Regions from separate parts of the Homo sapiens genome. Here regions 2, 3, 4, 5 and 6 are each linked to region 1. The links are contacts of gene promoters, found by promoter capture Hi-C in blood cells and fetal thymus (Javierre and others, 2016). All regions are on one chromosome and are shown on one strand. Each heading gives the region's core, a stretch centred on a gene start or on the middle of the fragment in contact. The rest is flanking DNA. Distances are from core to core; before and after follow the strand shown. Region 1 holds the start of FOXC1 (forkhead box C1). Region 2 has its middle 27 kb from the start of LINC02521. Region 3 has its middle 160 kb from the start of LINC02521. Region 4 overlaps GMDS (GDP-mannose 4,6-dehydratase). Region 5 overlaps GMDS (GDP-mannose 4,6-dehydratase). Region 6 overlaps GMDS (GDP-mannose 4,6-dehydratase).

Evidence for each region. The method cuts DNA at HindIII sites, captures the fragments that hold promoters and counts their contacts. A CHiCAGO score of 5 or more calls a contact.
Region 2: a fragment that was not itself captured here is called in contact with the fragment with the promoter of FOXC1 in region 1 in 1 of 17 cell types (total CD8 T cells); the score reaches 6.8 in total CD8 T cells.
Region 3: a contact is called between a fragment that was not itself captured here and the fragment with the promoter of FOXC1 in region 1, in 2 of 17 cell types (neutrophils and erythroblasts). The highest score is 5.4, in neutrophils.
Region 4: a contact is called between a fragment that was not itself captured here and the fragment with the promoter of FOXC1 in region 1, in 3 of 17 cell types (total B cells, monocytes and fetal thymus). The highest score is 5.9, in total B cells.
Region 5: a contact is called between a fragment that was not itself captured here and the fragment with the promoter of FOXC1 in region 1, in 2 of 17 cell types (total B cells and naive CD8 T cells). The highest score is 9.9, in total B cells.
Region 6: a fragment that was not itself captured here is called in contact with the fragment with the promoter of FOXC1 in region 1 in 2 of 17 cell types (M1 macrophages and naive CD8 T cells); the score reaches 5.4 in M1 macrophages.

Annotation. Positions count from the first base shown.
Region 1 is chr6:1,607,039-1,611,756 of GRCh38, forward strand. It overlaps FOXC1 (forkhead box C1), which reads left to right and starts at 2,877. Exons shown (of 1, transcript NM_001453.3): 1 at 2,877-4,718. The coding sequence starts at 3,408. It overlaps FOXCUT (FOXC1 upstream transcript), which reads left to right. Exons shown (of 2, transcript NR_125804.1): 2 at 1-320. RefSeq lists enhancers at 1-54, 412-921, 3,635-3,734 and a silencer at 2,685-3,304. The HindIII fragment of the contact is 8,300 bases long and covers 299-4,718 here.
Region 2 is chr6:2,604,973-2,609,690 of GRCh38, forward strand. No RefSeq gene overlaps it. Among named protein-coding and RNA genes, the nearest start is that of LINC02521, 27 kb to the right of the region's middle. The HindIII fragment of the contact is 736 bases long and covers 1,597-2,332 here.
Region 3 is chr6:2,469,317-2,474,034 of GRCh38, forward strand. No RefSeq gene overlaps it. Among named protein-coding and RNA genes, the nearest start is that of LINC02521, 160 kb to the right of the region's middle. The HindIII fragment of the contact is 2,396 bases long and covers 1,596-3,991 here.
Region 4 is chr6:2,234,941-2,239,658 of GRCh38, forward strand. The region is part of intron 1 of GMDS (GDP-mannose 4,6-dehydratase); the gene reads right to left. Among named protein-coding and RNA genes, the nearest start is that of GMDS, 8.3 kb to the right of the region's middle. The HindIII fragment of the contact is 515 bases long and covers 1,943-2,457 here.
Region 5 is chr6:2,218,605-2,223,322 of GRCh38, forward strand. The region is part of intron 1 of GMDS (GDP-mannose 4,6-dehydratase); the gene reads right to left. Among named protein-coding and RNA genes, the nearest start is that of GMDS, 25 kb to the right of the region's middle. RefSeq lists enhancers at 3,338-3,407, 3,574-4,191. The HindIII fragment of the contact is 2,896 bases long and covers 1,011-3,906 here.
Region 6 is chr6:2,167,756-2,172,473 of GRCh38, forward strand. The region is part of intron 1 of GMDS (GDP-mannose 4,6-dehydratase); the gene reads right to left. Among named protein-coding and RNA genes, the nearest start is that of GMDS, 75 kb to the right of the region's middle. The HindIII fragment of the contact is 2,892 bases long and covers 526-3,417 here.

The DNA.
Region 1 (4,718 bases), core at 1,627-4,126:
CTGTGACGTCACTCCCCCTCCTCCGAGCTAAGCACCCCTCGGTGGGCCCTGGGAATTGTTGCCCGGCCTGCTGGGGAGGGGCGGAGTGTGGGCCCAGGGAGGGTTCCACCAAACATCCATTACCGCTGTCGCCTGCGGGGCCTTCAGGCTGCAAGTACGTGAGGTGTCAGAAAAGAAGCCGAAGGGTTCCCGTGGGGGCTCTTCTGCCAAATGAGTCAAGAGATGTGCGGAAGCGGATGATTGAAGTACCCCGTGGAGTAGCAGAAAGGGGCATCAAAAACTGTAACCTGAAAATAAAAGCTTTAACCTGTTCCCCAAAAGACTTCATGCCTGCGTCTTAATGTTCAAATAACACCACTAACAACAAAAATGAAATAAGAAAAGTGCTTGAAATACAATCAAGCCGCTTACTGGAGGCTTGCTTCCGAGTAAGTTTATAAAACACAAATGCAAATATCTTTTCCTGGCGAATATCCAGAGCTAAACCAGTGGAAAGTTGATCTTGATAAAACTACGTCCCTCCATTTTTTCTCGCACGCCAGACACTAATTTCACAACGGCGACTTTTATACCCAAAACGGAGAGCTGAGAACACCGCTGCAGGTCGATTTGCAATTTACATAACAAGCTGTTTACACTTCACTGGGCCGATGGAGGGAGGAGGCAGGGAAGAGCAGGAGGCGACAGGCTGGTGGGGGAGGGGGCAGCGGGGCACCATTGCCTGTTGCAAAACTCGGGGCCGAAGGCGTTTCCCGCATTCGGAAAACAAAGCATCCGTAATCGCTGCGTTCATCTCCGCGCACCGCTAGCAGTGTAAAAGGCAGCTTCAAGACCGAACTCACCACTTGCTGAGGTGTTCAGGGAGACCACTTAAATCTCCTCCAGGCTGAAGCCACAGCACTCCTTAAAGCCTCGACCAGGCGGGCTGATAAGACCTTCAGGGTGCCGGGCTGGGGGCTGAACAGGAATTAAGTGTTCAGGTCCTGGGGCTTCACCACCACCCTCGCCCCTGTCTAGTGTCCTTGGCAACCAGCAAGTGCTGAGCCTCCTGTTGGTGCTTCTCCAACCCACCAGTGACTTGGCCCGCAAACCACCTGGAAAAGGAGTCTCCAGAGACCCCGGCGCACAGCAGGCCAGGAGGCAGCTGCCCCGGGATTCAGAGCAACCTCGGGGCAACCCTCCCTCCTCCAAAGGCTAATTCTAGAAGAGGCAGGTCCTCTTTCCTTCGATGTCAATGTCCATTATGAAACAGTAATTTTTAAATATTCAGGTGACACGGAGATGCGCCTGCTACACGTCAGCGTCCTTCACATGTAACAGCCGAAGCTGCAATTTGAATTTTCCTGCCAACGTGAGGAAGCCGGGATTCGAACCGGGGAGACAAAAGGGGTCCCGAACATGTCCTTGGATTTAATAGATGGTCGGAAATCAGGGGCAGCGGAGCTGTTAAATGCGTCACGCACGCTTCTTCGCAGTCTCCTGAGCTCGCCACTTCCCCCAGCTTCTAGTGAACGACTTGGGATTCAGCCTCCGGGAGGGTCTCTCCTCAAGTCGCTAAAATGCAGAATCGCCGTGCCGGGGGAGGGAGGCCTGGCTCTTTCCCGCTCCTTCGTTTCTTTCCCTCATTTCTCTTCTTCCTGTCCCATTCCAACCACCCAGCGACGGCGAATCTCAGGCGTGTGCACAACGAGCGGGGGCCCTTCCGTGCGTGTCCCCCCAGAATCCTTGAACCGCCCTCTAGGTGCGACCCTGGACGTTCCCCCAGACACACCCGTTGTCTCTGCGAGCCGGCAGCCCCGCGCATGTGGAGATGGAGACTGGCCTGGGGAAGCGTTAAGCTCTTAGACATATTTATTTGCTTCTTGTCATCACACCTGCTAATGTCACCGAGCCCGCAGCCTGACCCCTCATCTGAGCCGAAACGGGCCTGACGGGATCAGAGGGGGCGGCGGCGCGGCGAGCCGGTGGGACCCTCGCGGGCGGGCAGGGGAGCGCGGGGCAGCAGCCGGGCTCCGGCAGCCCTCGCCGCCCGCACCCTCAGGCCGCCAAGGGCCGGCCCCCCGGGGAGGGGGGCGAGAAGCAGGGCGGCCCGCAGCGGGGCGGGCTCATCCTTCGCGGGTGAACGGCCGTCGGAAACTCCCAGCAGGGCCCCGCACCCCTTGCCTTCATTTCGGCTGGGGAGGGGTCATGGAGGGGGGCCAGATGGGCGACGAACCTTCTTCCCCACCGCGAGCAGGGCCTGGCTGTGACCGAGCCCTCAAAATCATGTCCTTTGTAGCCGAGTTCAGGACAGGAGAACCTCCAAGTGGAGAAAAGCCGGAGACGTCAGTGACCCGAGTGAGACTGGCGTTGGAGAAGGGAGGGAAGGGGCTGCGGGAGGGGAGAGGCGGCGGGGAGGAGAGGCTGGGGCAACCCCAGCGCTGGCGTCGGCGGGGCTGGCGAAGGAATGAGAGCGAGCCAGCACGAGGCGGGGCGGAGACGCCAGGGCCACTCGGGAGCCGTGGGCGAAGGAAGGGTCTGCACGGGGTCCCGGGAGGACCCAGGAAGTCTGCGCGAACGGCGGGCGTGGGTCCGGAGGGCCCGGGGTGGGAGGTCTGCCGGGCGCCGGCGGCAGGCAGGTGGACTGCGGGGGGCGAACCGACGGCGGGCCGGGCGCCGGCGCGGGCGCAGGGCCGGGGCCCGGGCCAGGGCGGCCGGCGCGCGTGTGGTCAGCCCCGCGGTCCTCCGGCCTCCGGGAGCGGGCCGGCAGGGCTCGGCCTCCGGCTCATTCGGAGGCGGTTCTCACCTCCCATTGGCTGCCGCCGCTGGCGGGGCGGGGCTCCGCTGCCCGGAAAAAAGTGTAACTGCGTAAAAAAGTCCTCGCCTGGGTGACGGATGCTCAAAAGTTCAGAAGTTTTCCCAATGCTTCCTTAAGCGGCTGGCGCGCGAGAGACCGAGAAAAGGTGACGCGGGGCCCGGGCAGGCGGCCGGCGCGCGGCCCCCCCCCCCCCCGCCCTGGTTATTTGGCCGCCTTCGCCGGCAGCTCAGGGCAGAGTCTCCTGGAAGGCGCAGGCAGTGTGGCGAGAAGGGCGCCTGCTTGTTCTTTCTTTTTGTCTGCTTTCCCCCGTTTGCGCCTGGAAGCTGCGCCGCGAGTTCCTGCAAGGCGGTCTGCCGCGGCCGGGCCCGGCCTTCTCCCCTCGCAGCGACCCCGCCTCGCGGCCGCGCGGGCCCCGAGGTAGCCCGAGGCGCCGGAGGAGCCAGCCCCAGCGAGCGCCGGGAGAGGCGGCAGCGCAGCCGGACGCACAGCGCAGCGGGCCGGCACCAGCTCGGCCGGGCCCGGACTCGGACTCGGCGGCCGGCGCGGCGCGGCCCGGCCCGAGCGAGGGTGGGGGGCGGCGGGCGGCGCGGGGCGGCGGCGAGCGGGGGCCATGCAGGCGCGCTACTCCGTGTCCAGCCCCAACTCCCTGGGAGTGGTGCCCTACCTCGGCGGCGAGCAGAGCTACTACCGCGCGGCGGCCGCGGCGGCCGGGGGCGGCTACACCGCCATGCCGGCCCCCATGAGCGTGTACTCGCACCCTGCGCACGCCGAGCAGTACCCGGGCGGCATGGCCCGCGCCTACGGGCCCTACACGCCGCAGCCGCAGCCCAAGGACATGGTGAAGCCGCCCTATAGCTACATCGCGCTCATCACCATGGCCATCCAGAACGCCCCGGACAAGAAGATCACCCTGAACGGCATCTACCAGTTCATCATGGACCGCTTCCCCTTCTACCGGGACAACAAGCAGGGCTGGCAGAACAGCATCCGCCACAACCTCTCGCTCAACGAGTGCTTCGTCAAGGTGCCGCGCGACGACAAGAAGCCGGGCAAGGGCAGCTACTGGACGCTGGACCCGGACTCCTACAACATGTTCGAGAACGGCAGCTTCCTGCGGCGGCGGCGGCGCTTCAAGAAGAAGGACGCGGTGAAGGACAAGGAGGAGAAGGACAGGCTGCACCTCAAGGAGCCGCCCCCGCCCGGCCGCCAGCCCCCGCCCGCGCCGCCGGAGCAGGCCGACGGCAACGCGCCCGGTCCGCAGCCGCCGCCCGTGCGCATCCAGGACATCAAGACCGAGAACGGTACGTGCCCCTCGCCGCCCCAGCCCCTGTCCCCGGCCGCCGCCCTGGGCAGCGGCAGCGCCGCCGCGGTGCCCAAGATCGAGAGCCCCGACAGCAGCAGCAGCAGCCTGTCCAGCGGGAGCAGCCCCCCGGGCAGCCTGCCGTCGGCGCGGCCGCTCAGCCTGGACGGTGCGGATTCCGCGCCGCCGCCGCCCGCGCCCTCCGCCCCGCCGCCGCACCATAGCCAGGGCTTCAGCGTGGACAACATCATGACGTCGCTGCGGGGGTCGCCGCAGAGCGCGGCCGCGGAGCTCAGCTCCGGCCTTCTGGCCTCGGCGGCCGCGTCCTCGCGCGCGGGGATCGCACCCCCGCTGGCGCTCGGCGCCTACTCGCCCGGCCAGAGCTCCCTCTACAGCTCCCCCTGCAGCCAGACCTCCAGCGCGGGCAGCTCGGGCGGCGGCGGCGGCGGCGCGGGGGCCGCGGGGGGCGCGGGCGGCGCCGGGACCTACCACTGCAACCTGCAAGCCATGAGCCTGTACGCGGCCGGCGAGCGCGGGGGCCACTTGCAGGGCGCGCCCGGGGGCGCGGGCGGCTCGGCCGTGGACGACCCCCTGCCCGACTACTCTCTGCCTCCGGTCACC
Region 2 (4,718 bases), core at 715-3,214, 1.0 Mb after region 1:
GAGAAGTTTCATGATGGGAAACCAGGTCAGGAAAGATAGAAGCAGAATGGAGGAGAAAAGAAAGAAAGAAAGAGAAGAAGAAAGAAAGAAGGAAGGAAGGAAGGAGGGAGGGAAGGAGAGGCAAAGAGAAAGAGAGAGACACAAAGAGAAGAGAGAAGAAAGGAAGAAAGAAGAAAGAAAGAAAGGAAGAAAGAAAGAAAGAAAGAAAGAAAGAAAGAAAGAAAGAAAGAAAGAAAGAAAGAAAAGAAAAGAAGAAAATACACAGAGAGGCAGAGAAACAGTAGGAAAGAGGGAAGGAGGAAGGAAGGAAGGAGGGAAGGAATGAAGGAAGGGAGGGAGGGAGGGAAGGAGGGAAGGGAAGGGAAGGGAAGGAAGGAAGGGAAGGAAGGAAGATGACCAACCTAAGTGAACTCTGGGAACAACGGTGAATGTTTGTGTTTATATAAACATGTTACTTTAAGATGGTTGACTCCTTACAGACAAAGGCCATATTTTCATCACTTCCTATAAAACCTCTCTACAATACCCAACAAAGTGAGAGGTCCTTGGTGTTCCCAAAGCATTTAAGAGATAACAACAGTAATGTCCATGTGAGATCCTCGCGCTGGTGTGTGGTTTCTGAAGTGCATCCTGCAATGTGAAATGGTAGCTGCTATTCGGTGTTGATAACCTCAGTTCACTGTGGATCCCATCCGACAACGCGTGAAGTCAAGAAAAGCCAACTGTGACCCCACTGAGGGGGAAGCATCTAGTCTCTGCTTCCTGAACAGACTGTTCCAAAAACGGGGCTGTTGTTTCAGTTACTTACAGTAATAAAACCACCGCGACCCCATATCCATCTTTCCACATTCCCCACCTCCCATCCTACCCAAGGTCATGAATATCAAACTTGGAAAGGAAAAGAATGAAGGACGTCTCCCCCAGCAATTAAAATTAAGTCCTTTTTCTTGCCTCCAACTAAAATCTTGGACGTGATGGCAGTTGCATTTAGCGGGATCCCAAATGCTGCTTTTATATGCCAGCATTCCATTCGGGGGGCTGATTTGTAGGTTTAAAAATATGCAATGTATGAAAGAGAGGCTCATTTATTTATTTCCTCCCTTGACTGACCTTGGGCCTTGATTTATCTCAAAACCAAGAGAATTTTCCTCTTGGTAAAGGAGGACTAATTCTTTCAGTGAGTCCTTGATAGTTTCTGCCATCAAAAACAAACCATAAGCTGAATGTACAGAAATGCCCTGCATTTAAGAAAGATGACATGGGGAGTAGTAAAAGCAGGAGGAAGAGAAGTGTGAGAAGAAAAAGAAGCAGGGAAAATCAGGGGGAAAGTGATGTTGAACAAATCATGCACATTTCAAGATTTTTAAAAAAGCAATGCGTTTGGGGATGGATAGCTGTCACCCTTGCCACCTTGGAGGAAAGTTTTGCTGGCTAACTGGCTATTGTCAAGCAGGCCGGGCTGGTGGCCTCGGCGGGCTGGCTGACCTTCCCCTGACTCCAAGAGGAAAGAAATAGTGAGGCTCTGTGTCCTGCGAGTCGGGCCTTCCTGTGACCTGAGTGCAACGTCTCAGCCCCTCTCCGACAACCCTCCAGCAAAGCTTGCTGGAGCTCTTGGTTTATTTTTTCAGGTGAGTGAACGCCGTATCAAATACTGGTTTCTCAGTTGCTTTTAATTAGGCTTCTGGGTTCCACTCTTTCATCTCGCCTGAAATCTGCATCACTTTTCTCCAGCTATTTCAGGTTCTAAAGCCACGGGTTTGCTTTCATTCAGCTAATTGAAGGCACACAGGAAAGGAGAAGGGGGATAATCCCAATCATTGGACATTTTTTAGGGCTGTGATAAACCACACATTTTTTAGCAACAGAAAACCACTTTCAAAACGTTAACTCTGCGGCCTCTGCTCAGGGGCTGGAGGGCCTACCCCTGAGGCTTCAAGGTTCATGTCATGTGGGATTCTCTGAGACTCCTCGATGCAGGTAGAGAGCAGGAGGGCAGGTGAGATGCCGTGATGTGACGGAACAGGCCCCATCACTGTCCCTTTCTGGTGTCGAGCTACTGGGAACATCGCTGTTGAACTGTGTATCTGCAAAGCTCTGGGGTGGAGGCCCAGCCACACACAACATCGGAGAACAGAGCTGATGCTGATGTCCCCTGAAGTGTCAGCCAGCAGCCAGGTGCTTGCTTAATCCCAGAAAGGGCAGTATATATTTTTCAGTAAAATTTTATTAAATCCTAATAGCAGATCTTTTTTTGTGGAGCAAAAAACTCTTGAAAACTATATTCATGAGGTATGTATAATTTGTTGGTTTTACCAAGGCTTTTTAGTAAACAAGCTTTAGATCTTGCCAGAGTATTCAAAATAGGTTTATGTAGAGCAAATATTTAAATTTATCTGTTATTCTATTTTTATAATTAATGAATAGGATTATAGGCATTTAATAAAACTTCTACAAAATAGAGCAGGGTGGGGGGGTGAATCCTACTTATTTGCTACCAAAAGAATCAAAATAACATTTATATTTATATCTCAATATATGGTTCTTCAAGTCATTTCAGGAGATGAAACAGTATGTGTTACCAACGGCTTTTAATTATAAAAACAAAGTGTTTAAATGGATCCAACACAGTCAGTTGGCAATACATCTAAATTCCATGTTATAGTGGCCTTTGTAAGGCAACAAATGGGGAAAGTACTTGTTAATTCATACAACGTCAAAGAATACCTGATACCTAAATAGCTCCCACAGTCAATTGAAAAAAGACCAACTATTGGGAAAATGACACTTTCCAGACAAGATCACAGAAGTTTAGATAGGTGAGAAGATACTCAGCCTCACTCATGATAATTAAAATGCAAATTAAACTATACTGAGATTTCATTTTCCAACTCCCAGGTTGTTTAAAAAAAAAAAACAAACCTAACAGGTTAATATGCTGGTGGCAATGGAGTAGAGGAAAGACATTTATTAAAAGCTGAAGGGCCCAGCACTTTGGGAGGCCAAGGCGGGCTCATGATGAGGTCAAGAGATCGAGACTATCCTATCTAACATGGTGAAATCCCACCTCTACTAAAAATACAAAAATTAGCTGAGCGTGGTGGTGCACACCTGTAGTCCCAGCTACTTGGGAAGCTGAGACAGGAGAATCGCTTGAACCCGGGAGGTGGAGGTTGCAGTGAGCCGAGATCATGCCACTGCACTCCAGCCTGGCAACAGAATGAAACTCCATCTCAAAAAAAAAAAAAAAAAAAAAAAGCTGATGGGAACATATATTGGTTTCAATTTCTATGGGAATTTGGCAATACCTACTAAAATTATAAATGCAAATGCCCTTTGACCCAAACTTCTTTTTCCAAAAATTTATTCGACAAATACATTCACCTAGAGGAAAAGTTCCTCTATGTCCCCACTTTCCATACTGTGCTCTTTGGAAGGAAGTCATTATCTGCAGCCCACATTTATGGGGTGGGGAGTTAATACTCCCCATCCTTGAGGGCAGAGTATCTACAGAAATTATTTGAAATTTTCTGCACAGAACATTTGTCTCTTTTCTTCAATTCATTTATTTTTTCAATCATTTGTTGATATCCGTATGAGTTCGTGGTTATTTATTTTATACTTTGAGTTATCATCCAAAGCTACTTTATTTACTTAGCTGAGTTTTTGATTAAACGGAATGATTGTTTTGGCATCCAGTAAAAATTGGCTTAGAACCCAGAGCTCATCACACAGCTCTGTGACCTAGTAGTCTCTTTGTATGTGCTCATGGAGTACCCATGTCTCTAGTCGTTTATTGGTTTGTCAAGGGTGTACCATGTGCCCTTTACTGTGCTAGGGGTACAGCAGTGAATGGAAGAGACTGCCTGCCTGCCTGCCCATGGGAATTATCAACCTAATGTCTGACTGATTTACTGTATATGTAGCATGGCACTAGAAAATCTGGGGCAACAGCAGGGGCAATATTATTCCTTTGGAATGATAGTAGTCATCTGGGCAGGCTAGAGGGACACCCAGACTCACACAAGACTAGAGAGAAAATAGGCGTAGAATAAATATAAGCCAAAACACCAACACCTGTCTGGTGTGCTGAAGGATGAGGTGAATCAAAGACAGATTTCTTGAGATGGCATGGAATAGACGCTCTTATAAAAGTTTTGTTAAAAGGAACTAGGCAATCATTGGAAGGATGGGGTCAGATGTAGATTTTCCTATGCAGCATTTAAAAAAATAGAACAGACAGACTATCCATAAAACGCAGGAAGAGGAGGAGGCCATAGGAGACTGAGGCTGTAGCTGAGAGGTCACCCATAGAGCAGACACTTCCAGCCACAGGAGGGGCAGAGGGTTTAGTTTTGGAGAGAGGATGAATGTGGAGAAAAGTAAAACACTCAACATTCAATGTAAAAGGGAATATGTATTGTTAGGCTCTCTGAGAGGCGAAATAGACCATGAATTCTTAACAGCTTCTTGTGTGTTGGAAAGACCTATGAAAAGTTTCATTAAGTTTTGGGGAAAAGCAGGTAGGGTAACTCCATAAATCTAATGTCGAGCTGCTGTGGTGTTTCTTTGAATGGTGAAAGATACATTTTTTCCCTTTAGTTTGCCAAATTTTACTGCCCACACTCTTACCATTGCTGCCGGGAGATCTGATATGTTGAACTCTTAATATGATGAATACATGTCTGAGGATTGAAAGAAAAGCAGTGGCATTAAAAATG
Region 3 (4,718 bases), core at 1,544-4,043, 860 kb after region 1:
AGCTGGTGGGCATCCCAGCAAAGTCCCAGAGCAGAATGGAGGGATCCCAGTGGGTGCTGCGGGGAGGCTGGCAGTGGCCTTGCTGTACTCACCTTTGCCCACAGCTGGAAATTAGTGCTTCATGTGTGAGGAGCATGTGTTTTCACTTCCCCTGCACCAGGAGTCTCCACACACCTGGGCGTGCATTTATGCTGTGGGACGTGGGAGCAGTGGGGACCATGTGGACAGAGCCACACCTGTACCTGGGCAGGAAGCAGAGCGGGGAATGTGCTTGGGAGTCTGTGCATCCATGCATGTGTGCGTGCATGTGCGTGCATGTGTGCATGTCTGTGCATGCCTGTGGACGTGTGTGTGTGCATGTCTGTGCCTGCATGTGGACGTGTGTGTACGTGTGCATGTGTGTGTGCAAAATGGGGCTGTGGTGATCTACTCTGCTAGATTCTAGGGGTTATAATTGACTTCAGGATGGATCATGAGTAGCTGGTTGCATCTCTGACAAGCTGACCATCCTGCACTGATCCATGCAGGCTATTTCTATGACAAATTGGATTTGCTCCCAAACAGCCCATTCTTGGGGAAATGCACTGCATTTCTTCTTTTTTGGGTAAATGATACGGCCTCAGATGTGGACTGGCTCCTCACCTGGCTGAGCCGGGCGAAGATGCAGGAGGACACGCTCTTCCTGGGGTGGCTGTGCTGAGACCTGCCAGGCCCAGCTCACTCCAGCTACTTCCTCAGGATGGGAAGCCCAGGTGAAGGAGGCACATCGGGAAAGTTTTGGTCATTTTATCTCTTTCCAGAGTAAAGCTCCAATATTGTAGATTCAAGGAAGAATTTTGTTTCATTTCAGTTGTGGGTTTTTCTACCCAATATAGGTCAGCTGGATCTCACAAGCTATTGTGGCTTCTAAGGCATAGCCTGTCGATTCTAAGGAAATTTGTATTGTTCTCCTCCATCAGAGAAAGGGGAGAGTTTCTTGGGGGAGAGGAAGCAAGAATTGCTAAGACTGGTTAAGGAAATGTCTACTCCAGAGTTTAGCTCTCCCATGCCTTTGGGGGACAGAGAATTCTATAAAGATCATGAGGCTTCCCAGAGCTTTCCATCTTTTTAAATGAGGAATTTGTTAAAAATCATCCATAATTTAGTAATATGTTGCTTTAAGATGGCAATATTTTAAAATAAATAACTCCATAGTAATCAATAAGCCTTCTATTCTTTTAATTGTTATTTGCTAGAAGCTTTTGCTGGACTTGCTCCATGGATCACAATTTATTATTTGTTTGGTGTATGAAAATAGTCCATTAGAAATTGTGTTAGAGTTCACTTTATAGCTCAGTATCCAGGAACAGCAAGAAATCTATTCACCTCCCTGTCTTCAATGCTTGATTAGTTCCAGCATTTCAGGCTGATAGCACTTATTTGGTTCTTGCTTGTCTCCAACTTGCAGTAATATAATCTTTTATAAAACATGTATAAAGATATAAAACATATCTTTCAAAGTTTATCATTTATAGCCTATAGATTGAGCCATCATAAAACAAATGATTTATTTATGTTCATTAGTCTTAATTTTAGATGTGTTTCTGCCACTCCGAAGCTTATTCAACCAATTACCATAAATGAGTCTGTTCATTCATTTTCCATGAAATGCACAGGCCCAGCACATGTAACTGCTTTAACTACTTAGCTATTAATTACATACTAACTACATAAATATGGAAAATTATCATACATGTTTTATGTATCACCCCTGAGATGTGCATGTCGGTTTGAAATTGAGTGGAGTTATATCAAAATTACATTTCACTTCTATGAATTCAACCTTACGTGTTCTGCAAAAATAAAAAAAATGTTAAATGCTGTGGTTGATTACACACTCTCATGCTTCACTGTGTGTCCTGGAGTGAAGCAGGGCTGGGGGCTCTGCAGGTGCCGTGCCGCTCATCAGCCACAAGTGGCATAAACATCCACGCACTTATGGCATAAACATCCCATGCGCTGAGTGTGAGCCTAGGGCTTAAAGAGAAATGGCCTCTAAACCCAGGCAACACCTTCATTTGGTGTTCAACCATAGAAGCAGCCAACACTTCTACCAATGAAGGAAATGACGAAGGGCATGTCCACGTGGGGCATTCTGAGGATGGTTCAAGGTGATGCCCTATTTCCCTCTTATGTTCTGATATGAGAAGCTACCCTGTGGGTGAGCTGCAACTCCACTCAAAATTAATGACAGATGGGTGGCATATTCAGCGCAATTTGAATTTCCTCGTTTCTTTCTCATGTTTACCTCTCTGATGTTTCTGTGAATCCTCTCCTGAACTTTAGCCTGCACTCAGCACGTGCTCGTGGCCAGCTGAGCAAACCCAAGGCGAAGAGATGAGTGTGTTGGAAAGTCAGAACAAAAGAGTCGATAGGGCGTGTCAGTCTCAGCGTGGCTCCAGGCAGCACCTTCCCTTGGCAAAAGCTGTTTTTGAAACAGAAAATAATTCGGTTCTGATCCATGTGCAATGCTTACAGAAGCAACCTGTGCCTCAAAGGTCCTCTTTTTTAGGGTTTCTAAGGAGGCAACCATGTCCTAATTAAACACTAAGTAGGCCTAACCTGACCACTGCTTTTCAGTTATACTTTTAAAAGAGCCATTTTCTGAAAATATACCCTGCCCTGAATTGAGCTGAGAATGGATATTTATCATTAGCTATAGCTGATATGCTGTGAAGGTAATTGCCTTCAAAACCTGAAGCTCCTTTAGTCATGAACCAAATGTTAAAATATAGAGTGAATTTAAAAATTATAGAGTGAATTTGGGCATTTCCAAGCACACACGATAATAGGTTTCCTTTGGACTGAGTCATCTGAGTTGACTTTTTACGGAATAAAAATGTAAGCAATAAATGGAGACTTCCCAATTTTCTCTTTATTGGATTCAACAGTCATCTGAATCTGAAGTCCCATTTGCATCGCTGTTAACCAAAAGCTGCGCCAACTTCACCTGGCCCTGCAGATTCTGGTGTACTAGATCATGGTGGCACAGAGATCTGAGGTCGGGTGATGGTAGTAGTTAGGCTTTGTGTGAGCTGGACCCTTCCCCAGGTCTCCAGGAGAAGGTTTCCAGTTGTTGCTATGGCCTGGCTTGTGCGGCACCACTGGGAATGCTGCTCATGGAATAGGATGGCCTTTCCTCCCTTCCCATCTCCAGGCCATCCTGCCATTGTCTGGGGTGAGGTCCTGCTGTAGGCACCCCGGAAAAAAAGAGAAACTCACAGACAGAATGCATGACAGACATAAAATGTGCATCACAGAGCAAAGTGGAAAGATTTCCACAGCTTCCATGGCTGTGTGTCTGTGCATGGATCTCCACAGGTGCTCTACTCTCCTGCCAGTCAGGTGCTCCGGGCTGCCTGGAAATAGGCCATTGGCAAGCGTTCATTAGCCCTAAAACATGGGACAGCCTTTTCTCTCTGGTTATAAGCAGCTGGAATTCCCCATTTTGTGGACATTGCTGCCTCAGGGTTTATAAGCTAGTTACTTCACTGTACTATAAGACCTTGGCCAACGTTAGCAGTAGCTGTCCTCTAAGTGTCCTCCCCTAGTTCTCTTCCCTCCTAAGTTATGACAAGAGCTACGCATATCAGAGAAGGGACAAGAGCCTCTTTTCTCCTAACTCACATTCTCGCTCCATCCCAAGACTCATTACATACATCTGGGTTCCCTTTATAACAGCAAAAATTATGCCCCTGGACATCTATGTAGGAGGAGAATTCATACTTCATCTTAAGGTCATGGAGAAAAATCATGTAGGGGGTGTAAAGGGTTGAAAAGCAATGCCTCTCCCCGCCGCTGTCCAACCTCAAATTTATGTCTACTTGGAATCTGTGAATGTGGCCTTATTTGGAAACAGGGTCTTTGTAGACGTAATCAAGTTAAGATGAGGCCATACTGGAGTAGGGTGGCCTCTAAATCCTACATGACTAGTGTCCTTACAAGAGAAGAAAGCTTGGACGCGCGCACACACACACACACACACACACACACACACACACACAGAGAACACCATGTGAACACAGGCAGCCATCAGGGGATGCTTTGCAAGCCAAGGAATGCCCAGCATTGCTGCAGCATCAGGAGCCGAGAGAGAGGCCCAGCACAGAGGATCCCTCAGGGCCTCTGGAAGGAACAGACCAGCAAACACCTGGATCAAGACTTCTGGCCTCAAGAACAGTGAGAGGATACATTACCATTACTTTAAGCCACACAGTTTGAGGTGATTTGTTACGGCAGCCTTAGGGGTTAGAACTGTGAATAAATGTTAGTAGCTCTTATTAAATTATCTATACTATAAAATGAAACAATACTGCTAGACACTAGTTAGGGAAGTTATCGGTGGTATTTAATGTATCTTACATTGGTAGTAGTGGGGACTCCACAATTATTTCCCACTTCTCATTCCTTATTCGATGGAGACATTTCAGGATTTTCCTCTCCATCCATTCCAGTGAGATGCCTGTGTCATTATTTTCCTTTGTGGCCGATAATGCAAAGTAAGAGGTGTTTTTCTCCTGGGTCTGCTTGATGTGGAGCAACCCCCCTGGGGTCCCCCACTCCCCACACACAAGGCCGCACGCCCGAAGAGCAGGATGGTTTTCAGGTCTGGGTTAACCCTGCCCCTTGGATTGCTCTCAAATCCGCGCTGGAAATTGACACCACATCTCTGTTGTGTA
Region 4 (4,718 bases), core at 950-3,449, 630 kb after region 1:
CATGGAGAAACCCCGTCTCTACTAAAAATAGAAAATTAGCCGGGCGTGGTGGCACATGCCTGTAATCCCAGGTACTCTGGAGGCTGAGGCAGGAGAATCGCTTGAACCTGGGAGGTGGAGGTTGCTGTGAACCAAGATTATGCCATTGCACTCCAGCCTGGGCAACAAGAGCAAAACTCCATCTCAAAAAAAACAAAAAAACAAAAAAACAAGTGATGATACGTGTACACAAAGGTGCCACAGCCAACAGAGTTAGAATCATCCCCTTAGGGGTGATGGGGAAGCAGGCATATTCTTCTTCAGGGCTGGAAAAATGTCCTTCTGAGCTAGACTTCTTCAGGCCAACTGAGACTAATCTATCAGATTAAACTTACTAAACATTCCAACAAAATCAAACCTACTATACTTCCCATGCCTATACATACAGGGAAATATAAAATGCCTCCCCCAGGGACAATGCCTAATTCATTCCATACTAAGCACCCAAATCCAGGTCTTATCATTTTGTTCTTCAAGCAAAAAGAAAACAAATGCAAAGCTGGAGCTCCCCATAGTCTGCATGGAGACATAAGAGGAAAACTGGGGCCAGGCACAGTGGCTGACACCTGCAATACCAGCACTTGGAGAGGTTGAGATGGTAGAATTGCTTGAGCCAAGGAGTTTGAAACCAGCCTGAGCAGCACGGCAAGACCCCATCTTAACAAAAAAAAAAAATACAAAAATTAGCCAGGCATAGTGGTGCACATCTGTGATCCCAGCTTCTCGGGAGGCTGAGGCCAAAGGATCGCTTGAGCCCAGGAGGTTGAGGCTCCAGTGATCTGTGTTTGCACTGCTGCACTCCAGCCTGAGCAAGACCCTTTCTGGAAAATAAAAAAAAATAAAAAAAATAAGAAAAAAAAAAAAAGAGGAAAACTGGTCTGTGTTGCCAATCTGGTAAGTTTCAGGAACAAGGCAAACAAATGGTGTTGGGAGCCAGTTCTCTATGGGTCTCTCCAGTTTCTGCATGTCTTATGAGCAGATTGCACTGACAGCTTTTATTGGCTACTATCTTTCCTGTACAGGACATCTGTAGATAGCATTTTAAGATAGCAATAGTGTTTCTCTCTGGAGCAGATGGAAGATTTGTTTGCTATGCAGAATAATAAAAATAATGTCTCCCTCAAAGCAAAGGCTGGGCAGGATTATTAGTTCCCTTATAAAAAATTGGGGTTTCCCAATCTCAGATTTTCTCAACTGTGGTGCATACCCACTGCATGGGCAACATCCACCTAGACCCACCCAGCCACCGTGTTACCCACATGGTCTTTGAGGGGCAAGAAAATACTATACAAACAGAGCTGTCACAAACATGAAGTTCATACTGCCTGCTGACCCAGGAGTGCTGTGTCTTCTGCCATCATCCGTGGAATTTTAAGAAGCTAACTTGTTAGCCTGCAAGTAAGGTAAAATCTCAGGCCTCCCACAATTCTTGACAAACAGGGTTTCTGCTGTCTTTCTCCTTGACTGGGTTTACTCCAACAAGCATATATGCCACACTTGCATTTTGTCCTGCAGGTCTCTTGCAACAAAGCTTCCATTTTGAAGGATTCCACTGTAAACTACAATAAACACGTTTATCAATATTGATCACCAAAAAATACTACTAGTGTCTGCATATACTTGCAAAATTCCAATTCATCATTTTTAAAGAACCGATGTAAAAATATAGTTCGAATAAAGCAATACTAAAAATCTAACTTTTGTGAAAAGTGATAGAAATACAGTACCATTCTAAGAAACATAGAAAAATCATGTTTTGATTTTAAAAGATTTCTAAAAGTGCCAATTAGAGGCTTTTTCACTCAGCATTAAGGAACATATTTTTGTTAAACATGATCAAGCAATTCATTTCACATTACAATCAAACCAAATGCTCAAGCATAATATATATATAATACAACCAAGCTTTGGTGGTTCATTTTCCCAAGTGTAATTAGTCAGTATAAAGAAATACTTTCTATAAATCCCTAGTAAATACCTTTATTTTTTCACTCTTAAGTTTAAAAGAACTTAGTATGAAGATCTGAGAAAGGATTCCCCTAGAATCACATGTGGTAAATTGTTTAAAAGGCACAGTATGAACAGTCTGAAACAAATGAAGTAAATACCCTTCAGCCAAGAACGTCACTGCATATAAAATCATCTAACCTCAAGTCTATGTAACTCAATTCTACATAAGTAAATGCCAAAATAATATCCTGGAAAGCTGAGTCATTTCAATGAGTAAATTTATATAAACAATTGGGTTACTACTTATGGTAAGTCACAAGATTTTGGCAGGAAAATTGCTTACTAGCTTGCCAAAGACTAGGTTTGGCACATTGGTGCCCCACTGCCAAGAACATTACTGATAATCAGCTTTCTATCCTATAGGATTACCTTTCAGACATGTTTTACTCACTCATTTCCTATGTATTAAGCTTATACAGGAATGGTTAATGCAACTGAGCACCTTACTTCTGGAAGTGTGAGATTCCCAAAATTCCTCAAGAAAGGAAGAAAAGCATGAGAAATTGTAAATTGGAAGTTTGGAAGTACCTTTTTTTTTTTTTTTTTTTTTGAGACAAAGTCTCGCTCTGTCACCCAGGCTGGAGTACAGTGGTATGATCTCGGCTCACTGCAAGCTCTGCCTCCCGGGTTCAAGCGATTCTCCTGCCTCAGCCTCCCGAGTACTTGAGATTCCAGGCGCCCACCACCATGCCAGGCTAATTTTTGTATTTTTAGTAGAGATGGGGTTTCTCCACGTTGGCCAGGGTAGTCTTGAACTCCTGGCCTCAGGTGATCTACCCACCTTGGCCTCCCAAAGTGTTGGGATTACAGGCATGAGCCACCTCGCCCCGCCTGGAAGTATCTTTAACATTAGGAAATGCAAATAATCAACAAATAAATAAAGGAGAAAGAAAGGAGAAAACTGAAATATACTAAGAATAGCCTGGTTAACATCAATCATGAAACTAAAGGGAAAGTGTTAATTTTCATGCCTTCTAAGTAAGAGCTACAGAAAGTTCTGGGAGACAGGGAAGAAGACTGGCTAAAGGTACAGCACAGCAGCATGGCCACCTTTAGGACTTGCCCACTCTACAGCAGCCACCTCTGAGCACTTTTAAGTCATTTTTAAGACAAAGAGGCCAGGTGCAGTGGCTCACACCTGTATTATCAGCACTTGGGAGGCCAAGACCAGAGGATTGCTTGAGGCCAGGAGTTCAAGACTAGCCTGGTCAGCTGGTGAGATCCTGTCTCTACAAAAAAAAAAAAAAAATAGTAAAAAAATCAGTCAGGCTTGGTGGCAGCTACCAGGGAGGCTGAAGCAGGAGGATCACCTGAGCCCAGGAGTTCAAAGCTGCAGCGAGCTATGATTGCACCACTGCACTTCAAACTCCAGAGGAACAAAATAATTCACTGTCTTCCCCCAGAAAACTGATTTTCCTTCCCAGTGGTTGCATTTCTGGCCATACTATTACCATCCAACCTGTCACCAAAATGCATTTGCATCCTTGATCTCATTATCCTCATACTTTTACTATTCTCATTCATCCTACATACCCCTAACTGCATTCCCAAGCACTTCTCCATCCTTCTCTCATTCCTTCCCACTGTGAGAACTTATTCATAATAAATAAGAACTATCACTTCATAAACACTACATGCCAGGAACAGTGATAGGCCTTATTATAATATAATCATCATTTGTAATCCACACATCAATTTGTGATGTGGGCATAATTAACTCCATTTTTCTACCCAAGAAAAACCCAAGAATTTAAAACTCCTTCCTCTATCCTAATTTCCCTGATTTGAACTTTACAAACATGTACCAAAATATCACACATACCCCATAAATATGTACAATTATTATGTACCAGTTAAAAAAAAAATCGTTCCTCACCAAAAAGTCACTTCATTCATTTGATATGTCCTACAAAGATGGACAGCTCCAAGTTTTCACTCTATCCTTACAAATTCTGACAACATACAACTCATATGAATTTCTTCTTAGTTTACAAACTTAATTTCAAATTCAGTAAAATTAATAGTTCATTGGTTTCATTTAAAAAAAAAACTATCCTGGCCGGGCACGGTGGCTCACGCCTATAATCCCAGCACTTTGGGAGGCCAAGGTGGGCGGATGACTTGAGGCCAAGAGTTCAAGACCAGCCTGGCCAACATGGCAAAACCCCAACTCTACTAAAAATACAAAAATTAGTTGGGCGTGGTAGCGCACGCCTGTAATCCCAGCTACTCAGGAGGCTGAGGCACAAGAATCACTTGAACCCAGGACACGGATGTTGCAGTGAGTGAGATCATACCACCATTGCACTCCAGCCTAGGCAACAGAGTAAGATCTGTCTCAAAAAAAAAAAAAAAAAATCCAATTGGCTTTATGTCTAAAACTGAAATTACTGCACTGCTTAAATATAAAGATAATTGCATAATTTCTCTATTGTACACATAATAAGTCAGCATGTAATCCAAACATCACACTACTGTAGACTAGGAGCAGCCCTTAGATCCCTAAGAATAACCAGGTAACCCTTTCACTTGACAAGTTAAGAAAAACACTCAAAAAATGTAAGGCTATACAATTAATTGGTATCAAAACCCAACCTCTGATTCCCAGTCCAGAGCTCTTTCAATTAATCACATGTAACAGTCTTTGATTAAGCAGGACAGTACTCAAG
Region 5 (4,718 bases), core at 1,209-3,708, 610 kb after region 1:
TCACCTCAGAGAGTACAGAACATTATCTTAATTTTTATCTTTCCCAAATAATTATTAAATATATTTAATATGCACAATTGTAATTATGAATCTTCTATATATCTTAATGTGCATTCTAAAGTATTTCAGATTACAATCACCAGATCATTTATTGAGAGCTATGTTACGTGCCAACAACCCTGAAATTAGAGTTAATTATCTTCATTCTATACATTATGAAACTGAGGTTTGTAGAGGCTAAAGTTTATTCAGGGTCACAAGGTTCCAAGAGCTAACCTAACACCTGTGCTTTTTCACAGATTCTAAGCATTAGGAATTTCTTTAAAAATCTCTTAATAAATAAATAGGCTGGGCACAGTGATTCAGGCCTGAGTTCTGGCTACTTGGGAGGTTGAGGAGGGAGGACCGCTTGAGCCCAGGAGGTCAAGGCTGAAGTGAGCTACGATCATACCACTGTACTCCAGCCTGGGCGACAGAGCAAGACCCTGTGTGAAAAACAAAAAAAGAAAGTAAACAGGCAACAGGTCGGTCCTCTGAGAAGAGGAAATGGGGAGGTGGCGGACAGGCATAGGACGACTCACCTGAATACCCATTTGCATCTTTATATTTTAAATTAGCTGAATATATTACCTACCCAGAAGATAAATAAAAATTTGGAAATAAAGCAAAATCTAAATAGAAGCCAGATGATAGAGAGGGTAGAAACTTGAGTCCTACAGAACCAGTTTGGCTGAAGAGCATGCTGTCATTAGGCCATCAGCCAACAGTGCATCCTGTTAAGTGAGAAGACAACATAGAACTTACTATATGGACGATATTCGTAATCACTTTACACAGGATCCTCTAAACCAGTGCTTCTCAAACTGTCTGCAGTAAAGAACTAGTTATTGTCAGCATCCTCATTTTAAATTTCTAATCCATCATGAACTGGTTCTTTTGTAAAATACAACTGAAGGTGAGTTACTAAAAAAAAATGATTAGATGTAAATGTCTCAGGAACTTGCTATAAAAGCTTCTAAATTTACTCTCATTTTCTGTACTTACCTTGTCACAGACCAGTAACAAACAGAGCACCGACCACACCAGTTAAAAGACCACACCTCCTGGGCACCAACTTAAACCAGAAACTTTAAAAAAAAATTCCCTCTGATTTCAGTATCATGAATATTGCTCCTGAGCAGCCGGGTCACTTCCGTTTTCTTCAAATGTCATAAATTATACAACTACAGGTTAAGCATCCCTAATCTGAAAATCCAAAATGTCCCCAAATCCAAAACTTTTTTAGTGTCAACATGGCACCAGAAGTGGAAAATTCCACCCCTCTGGTCCCAAGCATTTCAGATAAGGGATATTCAACCTATAATGGTGACAATGAAGATGATGTCAACACTGCAGAAAAAGTGCCCAGAGACAACATGTTGAAAATGTGTGAAGGGCTTATTCAAGGGCTAGGGCAGTGTGCATTCACAATAAAACATGAAATCCTGTCAGTGTATAAAATCAAAGACTTGTAAGACAAAAATCATGGCTAATGAGGCAGATGACTCCGGAGGAAACATCTTTAAAAGCCATCCAGCAGAACGCCTCCTTATCCCTAGAGGACTCAATTTCCCGGTCCTTCAATACTTCTGATGTTTCTTTTCACCCACCAAACACAAGATACAGGTACGGTAACCTTTTAGTCAACACAAGGCCTCACAGATGGAGACGGAAAGCCTGCTGCTGTGTGCTGTTGCTGTGGTTTAGCAGCTGGTACAGATGTCTGGTGATGCTCTGTGCTGCTTGGTTACCCTGACACTTATTTTCTCGCTGTAATAATGGCATGTCATATTTTTTACTGTTAAGTGCTTTAATGTGAATAGATGTGAGACAATAATTGCTTATACGTAGCATATAAATTCAGCCTCAAGAAGGATGGGGATGCCAGACAACTACAGACTGTCCACATGGGTGGCTCAGATAGAGTCACCTTCACTTTCTGACAGTTCAATGTACACAAACTTTGCTACACACATAAAATTACTTAATGTGTTGTATAAAATTACCTTCGGGCTATGTGTTTAAGGTATATATGAAGATAAACAAATTTCATGTTTAAACTTGGGTCCCACCCCCAAGATTTGTATATACATTTCTCTACGTATATGAAAATATTTCAAAATCGGAAAAAAAAAAAATCTGAAACACTTGTGCTCCCAAGCACTTCAGATAAGGGATACTCAACCTGTACTTGTATGTCCCTGTTTGATAATGGTAATAAAGCTGTGGCCTTCTAAGAAGGGATGTACAAGCTCAGGCACAGTGGTTCACACCTGGAATCCAAGCATTTGGGGAGGCCAACGTGGGAAGATCACTTGAGATTAGGAGTTCACAACCAGCGTGGGGAATACAGCAAGACCCCGTCTATACAGAAATTTTTTAATTAGCCAGGCATGGTAATGTACACCTGTAGTACATTACCACAAGTAATGTACTCCTCAGGAGACTGAGGTGGGAGGATTGCTTGAATCTAAGAGTTTGAGGTTACAGGAGCCACTGTACTCCAGCCTAGGCAACAGAGCAAGAAGCAACACCCAATCTCAAACAAATAAACAAAAAAACACAAAATTGTGGCTCAAAGATTACCTCTCAGCTTTATTCCTGGCTTCACGTAGAATTCCAGTTCTCACTTGTAATATCATGATTTATCCATCTGTTTTGACTTCAATTGCATTTTATTATTTTAATCAAGCTCCCTTAAACACAATATTACATTACTTAAAGTAGTGTCATCTAAAATGTTCTTTTTTTTTTTGAGACGGAGTCTTGCTCTGTCACCCAGGCTAGAGTGCGGTGGCGCAATCTCGGCTCACTGCAAGCTCCGCCTCCCGGCCTCCCGGGTTCACACCATTCTCCTGCCTCAGCCTCCAGAGTAGCTGGGACTACAGGCACCCGCCACCACGACCGGCTAATTTTTTGTATTTTTAGTAGAGACGGGGTTTCACCGTGTTAGCTAGGATGGTCTCCATATCCTGACCTCGTGATCCGACTGCCTCGGCCTCCCAAAGTGCTGGGATTACAGGAGTGAGCCACCATGCCCGGCCTTAAAATGTTCTTTTAACAAAGGGATTTTAGTGAATTTTGCAACATGAGTAAATGAATTAATGAGAATATCATATTCACATTATAGCAGTCCCAAGCAAAAAGAAAACAAACAACAACGAAAAAAGAAAATACTCTCAGAATGTGCCATGGGGTATAAAAGAAGAAAAAGAAGACAATCTGTGGCCACTGCCCACAGGGGCAACAGGAAACTTGGTGCTGCCCCTTTAAGAAGCCGCCAGGTCAGTGGGAAGAAAAAGAGAAAATGAAAGTCAAAGGGCCGTAAAGAAACAGGTTTTCTTAAATAGGAAATACAAAAATTAAACAGTAATTCTACCTAAATTATTCTCCAAAATAATGAAAAGCAACAATGTTTCAGTCTAGGCTCCCCTGCATGGAGGTGATTAGCTGGAAGCGACTAGTATGCTGAAGTCTGATAATGACAGCTTTTACACACTGTCACCAAATTACGATGCAAATTCTATGGAAATCATTAGACCAGCACTCACTGTAAGAAGTATGATCTGGGATTGAGTTTTGGAGCTTCTCAGAGGTTTACTCCGATCCTGTCAATCTGACTGCAGAGCTGCTTTCCCTAGGCGTCTAAAATGCTCTCCTGGGGTTAGAGACCACACCCTGGTGCAGTGAATGGGATTCCTCCAATTCCAAATGGCTCCAAAACCTCTGCTTTCTCCCTCAACTGCTTCCATTCTCACTGCTTATCTCCGACCCTTTGGCCCAAATGTCTCCATTCATTCGGTGCCTCATTACACAATTATTGGGTACTCATCAGGTGCTTAAGCACTGGTGAATGTAAACAATAGAAGCTTGGTCCTTGAGGCATACTGATTCTGTTAGGCAATTTAAGAATACTCACAGCAAAGGGGGAATACTGTAATAGACGCAATTACCAGCCAATTAGGAACAAAAAAAGGAAATGCTGTACTAAGAAATGCTGTGCTGCTTGAGAAGGTCAGGGCAGGCTGAGAGTGGAGCACAGGATGAGTGGCAGGTTTCCAGGCGGTCAGTAGGCACCACAGTAGGTGTGGGGGAAATCTGGACAGATACAAACACGAGCAACATTGAGAAAGACAGTGAGGCAGTTAATTTTGTGTGCTAACTAGGATATGCCAACCAGACTTGGTCAAACACCTGCCTAGATGTTGCTCTGAAGGCTATTTTTTAGATGTGATTAACATTTAAATCAGTACACTGAGTAATACTCCCTACAATGTGAGTGGGCTTCATCCACTCAAAGACATTACCCAGGAGGAACAACTAATTCTGCCTCCAAGCGGCCTAGATGTTGGACTGGAGCTGCAACATCAACTCTTTCCTGTGTCTCTAGCTTGCCAGCCAGCCCTGCAAATCTCAGACTTGCCAGCCCCCACAATGACATGAACCAATTCCTTCAAATCAATCAATCAATCAATCAATCAATCAATAGCGCGCTCTCTCTCTCTCTATATATATATACACACATATATATATATCCATATCCATCCATCCCACTGGTTCTGTTTCTCCAGAGAACCATGACTAATGTGGATATGGTGAATTCAAGAAACTATCCGTACAAAATGGCTGGGTTACAAAACACACACAAGCCAGGGGGCATGTGGTGCAAAGGCAGGAAA
Region 6 (4,718 bases), core at 722-3,221, 560 kb after region 1:
TGCTCTTACCTCCTTGCTCCCATCACAAGTTACACAGACTTCCATTTCGGCAACATCCCACTCCACTAAATCGTATATATATACTGGTATTAATTCCATGGGAACAACATTCCTCTTGTACCTTCAATGCCTAGTGAAACAACCGGATTCACACAGCAGGCAGTCAATAAGTACTGCTTAAATAAGCGAACAAATGGCTGGATGACTAAGGTGCCTTCATTGAAGCATTTATTATGTCCTACCAATTTTAAAAATTCCTTTAAAGTGAAAGTTAGCCAATACTGAGGCAGAAAGCAAGACAATACCATGGCTCTTCTTTGTGGGTGTCATTTCATGCCCCTACACTGAGGAGGTACAAACTTCTCTAAGGGTGCCCCTTCCATCTTTATTGTTTCTACATTTGCCTGCTCTTTCCCTTCCTTCCTCAGAAGGAAAGATGTGTTAGCAACAGTCATGCTCCAATTCTTTCCATTTCCCTCCTTAGCTCTCTGAGGGTCTGCAAACTGCAGGGAAGGGTGAGCGTGAAGCTTGTTCTTTACCAACAACAGCATCCAAAACCAAAACTACCTTGATACCGGACAGCTTCATGCGCACCACTTTAAGGCCTGAGATCCATGAGTAGAAGAAACAAGGAGCAAAGCAAAAGGTCACTTCCCTACAAACAAAATGTGGGCCTCAGAATGTGAGGCAAGAAAATCTTACATGATATGAATGTCAGATGGCAGCCTTTAGCCTACATCACCACAAATCAATATTAAATAACTAAGACAGTGTATTTATACATTGAGAGAGGATACACTGTAGAAAAGACCCTAACTATGCTTCCATTTCATAAACCACAAATTTAGATTTCTACTATGCTTTTTCTTTTCTTTGCTGTACTTTCTGAAGTTAAATGAATCAGTTAAATTCTTCAAATACCAGTCAGAACACATCAACTGCTTCTTTTAAAAGAAACTCTTAAAATGGGGCAAAGTAGATGCCAAATAAGGACTCTGTTTCTAAACATAAATTTAATACAAGTATTGTAAGCAAGGTCAAAATTATTAAAAGGAACTCCACTTCTGAATATTTAGAATAAAAAAGTCTGCTCTCAATTTTGATGTATTTCTAAGTCCTTACAGCCAACAAAGAACAAAAAACTCCACTGGTATTTAAAATTCTATCTGGATATATTACACTGACAAGATATGATTATATAACCAAGACCGTATCATGTAAATACTGAAAGTTTAAAGTCATAGGTAGAAAGAACACTTGAATAAAGATACTAGGATTCAGAGAGAATTTGTAGACTTTATTTTAGACTCCACAGTCATCTTTCCAGAGGGAAAAAAAACTAAAATTCTCCCACATTCTTAGTATCTAGGATAACCTTAAACATCAGAAGGTGTTAAATTCACCCAACATGAGTCAGGGACAAATTAAGAACTGGAAGGCACTTTGAAAAACCTAATAATGAAACAGAAGTTATTAATATCGTTATTACAAAAATACTTAAAAGTCCATTTGATATTAAAACCAGTTGAAAAATCTTCATAAGAAAGAGTTCCTTCAACAACACTACATATAACAGTATGGTGGCTCACGCCTGTAATCCCAGCACTTTGGGAGGCCAAGGTGGGAGGAACACCTGAGGCCAGGAGTTCGAGACCAGCTTGGCCAACATGGTAAGACCCTCGTCTCTACTCAGAACACAAAAATTAGCTGGGTGTGGTGGCAAGCACCTGTAATCCCAGCTACTCAGGAGGCTGGAGCTGGAGAATCGATTGAACCAAGGATGCAGAGGTTGCAGTGAGCTGAGATCACATCACTGCACTCCAGCCTGGGCAACAGAGCAAGAATAGTTTAAAGCCACCAGGCAGCAAAAAAAAAAAAAAACAAAAAAAAAGGCAATATAATTTTAAGTTTTCTGGGAAAACAGAGGCCATCAGAAGAATAACTTATTTTTCCCTTTGATTTCATAAAATATTTGCCAGGATCTGAGACTTTTAACTTACACAACTCCTACAGCAGAACACCATCCTCAAATACTGATTCAAAACACAGATCCAGAGAGAACTCAGTTACGTGTTCAGCTGGCAAGCCCTGACTATCAATTACTGCTTTAAGGGTGCTGGGCTGATTCAGAAGGTGCTATCTGGTGGTATATTAGAAAAGAGGACTGGCTGGGCGCGGTGGCTCACGCCTGTAATCCCAGCACTTTGGGAGGCCAAGGTGGGCCGATCACCTGAGGTCGGGAGTTCACGACCAGCCTGACCAACATAAAGAAACCCCATCTCTATTAAAAATACAAAATCAGCCAGGCGTGGTGGCAGATGCCTGTAATCCCAGCTACTCGGGAGCCTGAGGCAGGAGAATCGCTTGAACCCGGGAGGTGGAGGTTGTGGTGAGCCAAGATCGTGCCATTGCACTCCAGCCTGGGCAACAACAACGAAACTACATCTCAAAAAAAAAAAAAGAGAGAAAGAAAGAAAACAGGATTCGACTTTCTCCATGCAATTTTAAGAGAATGTTATTACTTACAGATTGGTTTAAATCCATTATCCTTGTTACCATATGTTCTAAACTAAATAGAAGCACAATTAGGCCAGGTGTACTAGCTCATACCTATAATCTAAACATTTTGGAAGGCCAAGACAGGAGGATATCTTGAGGCCAGGAGTTCGAGACCAGCCTGAGCAACACAGCAAGACCCTACCTCTACAGAAAAAAATAAAAATTAGATGGGCATAGTGGTGCACACCTATAGTCCTAGCTACTCAGGAGGCTGACGTGGGAGGATCACTTGAGCCCAGGAGTTCAAGGTTGCAGTGGGCTATGACTGCACCACTGCATTCCAGCCTGGGTGACAGAGTGTGACCCTGCCTTAAAAAAAAATAAAAAAAAAAAAGGCATAATTACATTACAGACTAACCCATTTGGTTACCTTTTTTAGAAGTTAAAACTCTAAAAACAGGCCAGGCGCGGTGGTTCACGCCTGTAATCCCAGCACTTTGGGAGGCCGAGGCGGGTGGATCACGAGGTCAGGAGATCGAGACCATCCTGACTAACACGGTGAAACCCCATCTCTACTAAAAATACAAAAAATTAGCCAGGTGCAGTGGCGGGCGCCTGTAGTCCCAGCTACTCGGGAGGCTGAGGCAGGAGAATGGCATGAACCCAGGAGGCAGAGCTTGTGGTGAGCCGAGATTGCACCACTGCACTCCAGCCTGGGCAAAAGAGTGAGACTCCGTCTCCAAAAGAAAAAAAAAATACTCTAAAAACAAGTATGTATCAGACTGAAAAAAATTACTACCTTTAAATATCTGTCAATCCAAATCATAGTACCAAAAATTGCAAATACACATTGGTAAATGAATTCAGGAACTCATGAACTTGAATTCAGGAGTCTGTGCTTCTTAATCTTAAGAGTAAAGCTTATGGCATTGTCACACAACTTTCAGTGGTCTGAGGAGCTTAATAAAATGGAGTGATGAGTCTGTACACATATTCAAAAGATTAAAAGAATAACAACAAAAAAGGAAGACAGGACAGAGACAGAATGTAAGTAATTTGTTTAACATTTTCTTGGCCCATTCGGTCTGCTATAACAAAATACCATAAACTAGGTGCCTAGTTCTCTTCTTTCTCACAGATTTGGAGCCTAGGAAGTCCAAGATCAACTACCCGAACAGACAAGCAAATGGCAAAAATAAATAAATAAATGGCAGATGTGTTGATGATTAGATGCAATTAACTGAGTGGAGAAAAATTAAAATCCAGAAAACAAACACAGAATAAAGTCTGTCTAATTTACCTATGTATCTCTAGGAAGCAGTCAGTAAATATATTAGGATTTAATAAAGAGAAAATAAAACTAACAAAATTGTGCTTGCTGCAGGTGGGTGGATAGCACAGGGAACAAAAAATGAGATCATCATCCTAAGGACTCAGAAATACATAGTGTGAAACTATTTACCACAGAAGCCAGAAGAAAGCATCAGGAAAGTCTTCAATATCCACATTAAAATGCACAAAGACTTCCATGAAAAAGGTGCAAAGAGCCACAATGAAAGAAAGAAGTTAAGGTAAAAAGATAATAGGATAATGTAAGGAGATGAACAAAATAAGGAAGGAAACTAAAATGTCAACAGAACTTAAATGCATACAGAGAGCAGTGAGGGGCTAAACTGACGCAATAAATGGCAGAGAAACAACTCACGTGGCCGGCTAATCTGAGAGGCTTTCCCAGACTGTAGAATTAAAAAAAGATACCTTCCAAACACTACGGAAGACATCAAAGACAGCATGTGTAACAAAAAGCAGACCTCCCAACCCCCACGAAAAGCAAGAATACATTTAAAACAAAAAATAAGAAGGCACAAGTAGAACTGAACTTATCTTTTATGATGATCATCATAAATGAATTGACCTCCCCAATATTAAAGACAAAGTCTCTCAGATTGAGGAGAAAAAATGAGATACTACCTCTCAAAACAACCAGATATGTTGTATCTCAAGAAGATAAAAATAAAAGGAGAGAGTGACAATATGAACACAAGACAAAATAGAATTCAAGGCAAAAGTATTAAGTGGAACAATAATTAAGACACAAAAAGCATGAATTTCTGTTTGAACTACCATTACACTGAAAGATTAAAAAGAATTGATATGGCCGGGCGCAGTGGCTCACGCCTGCAATCCCAGCACTTTGGGAGGCCGAGGCAGGTGGATCA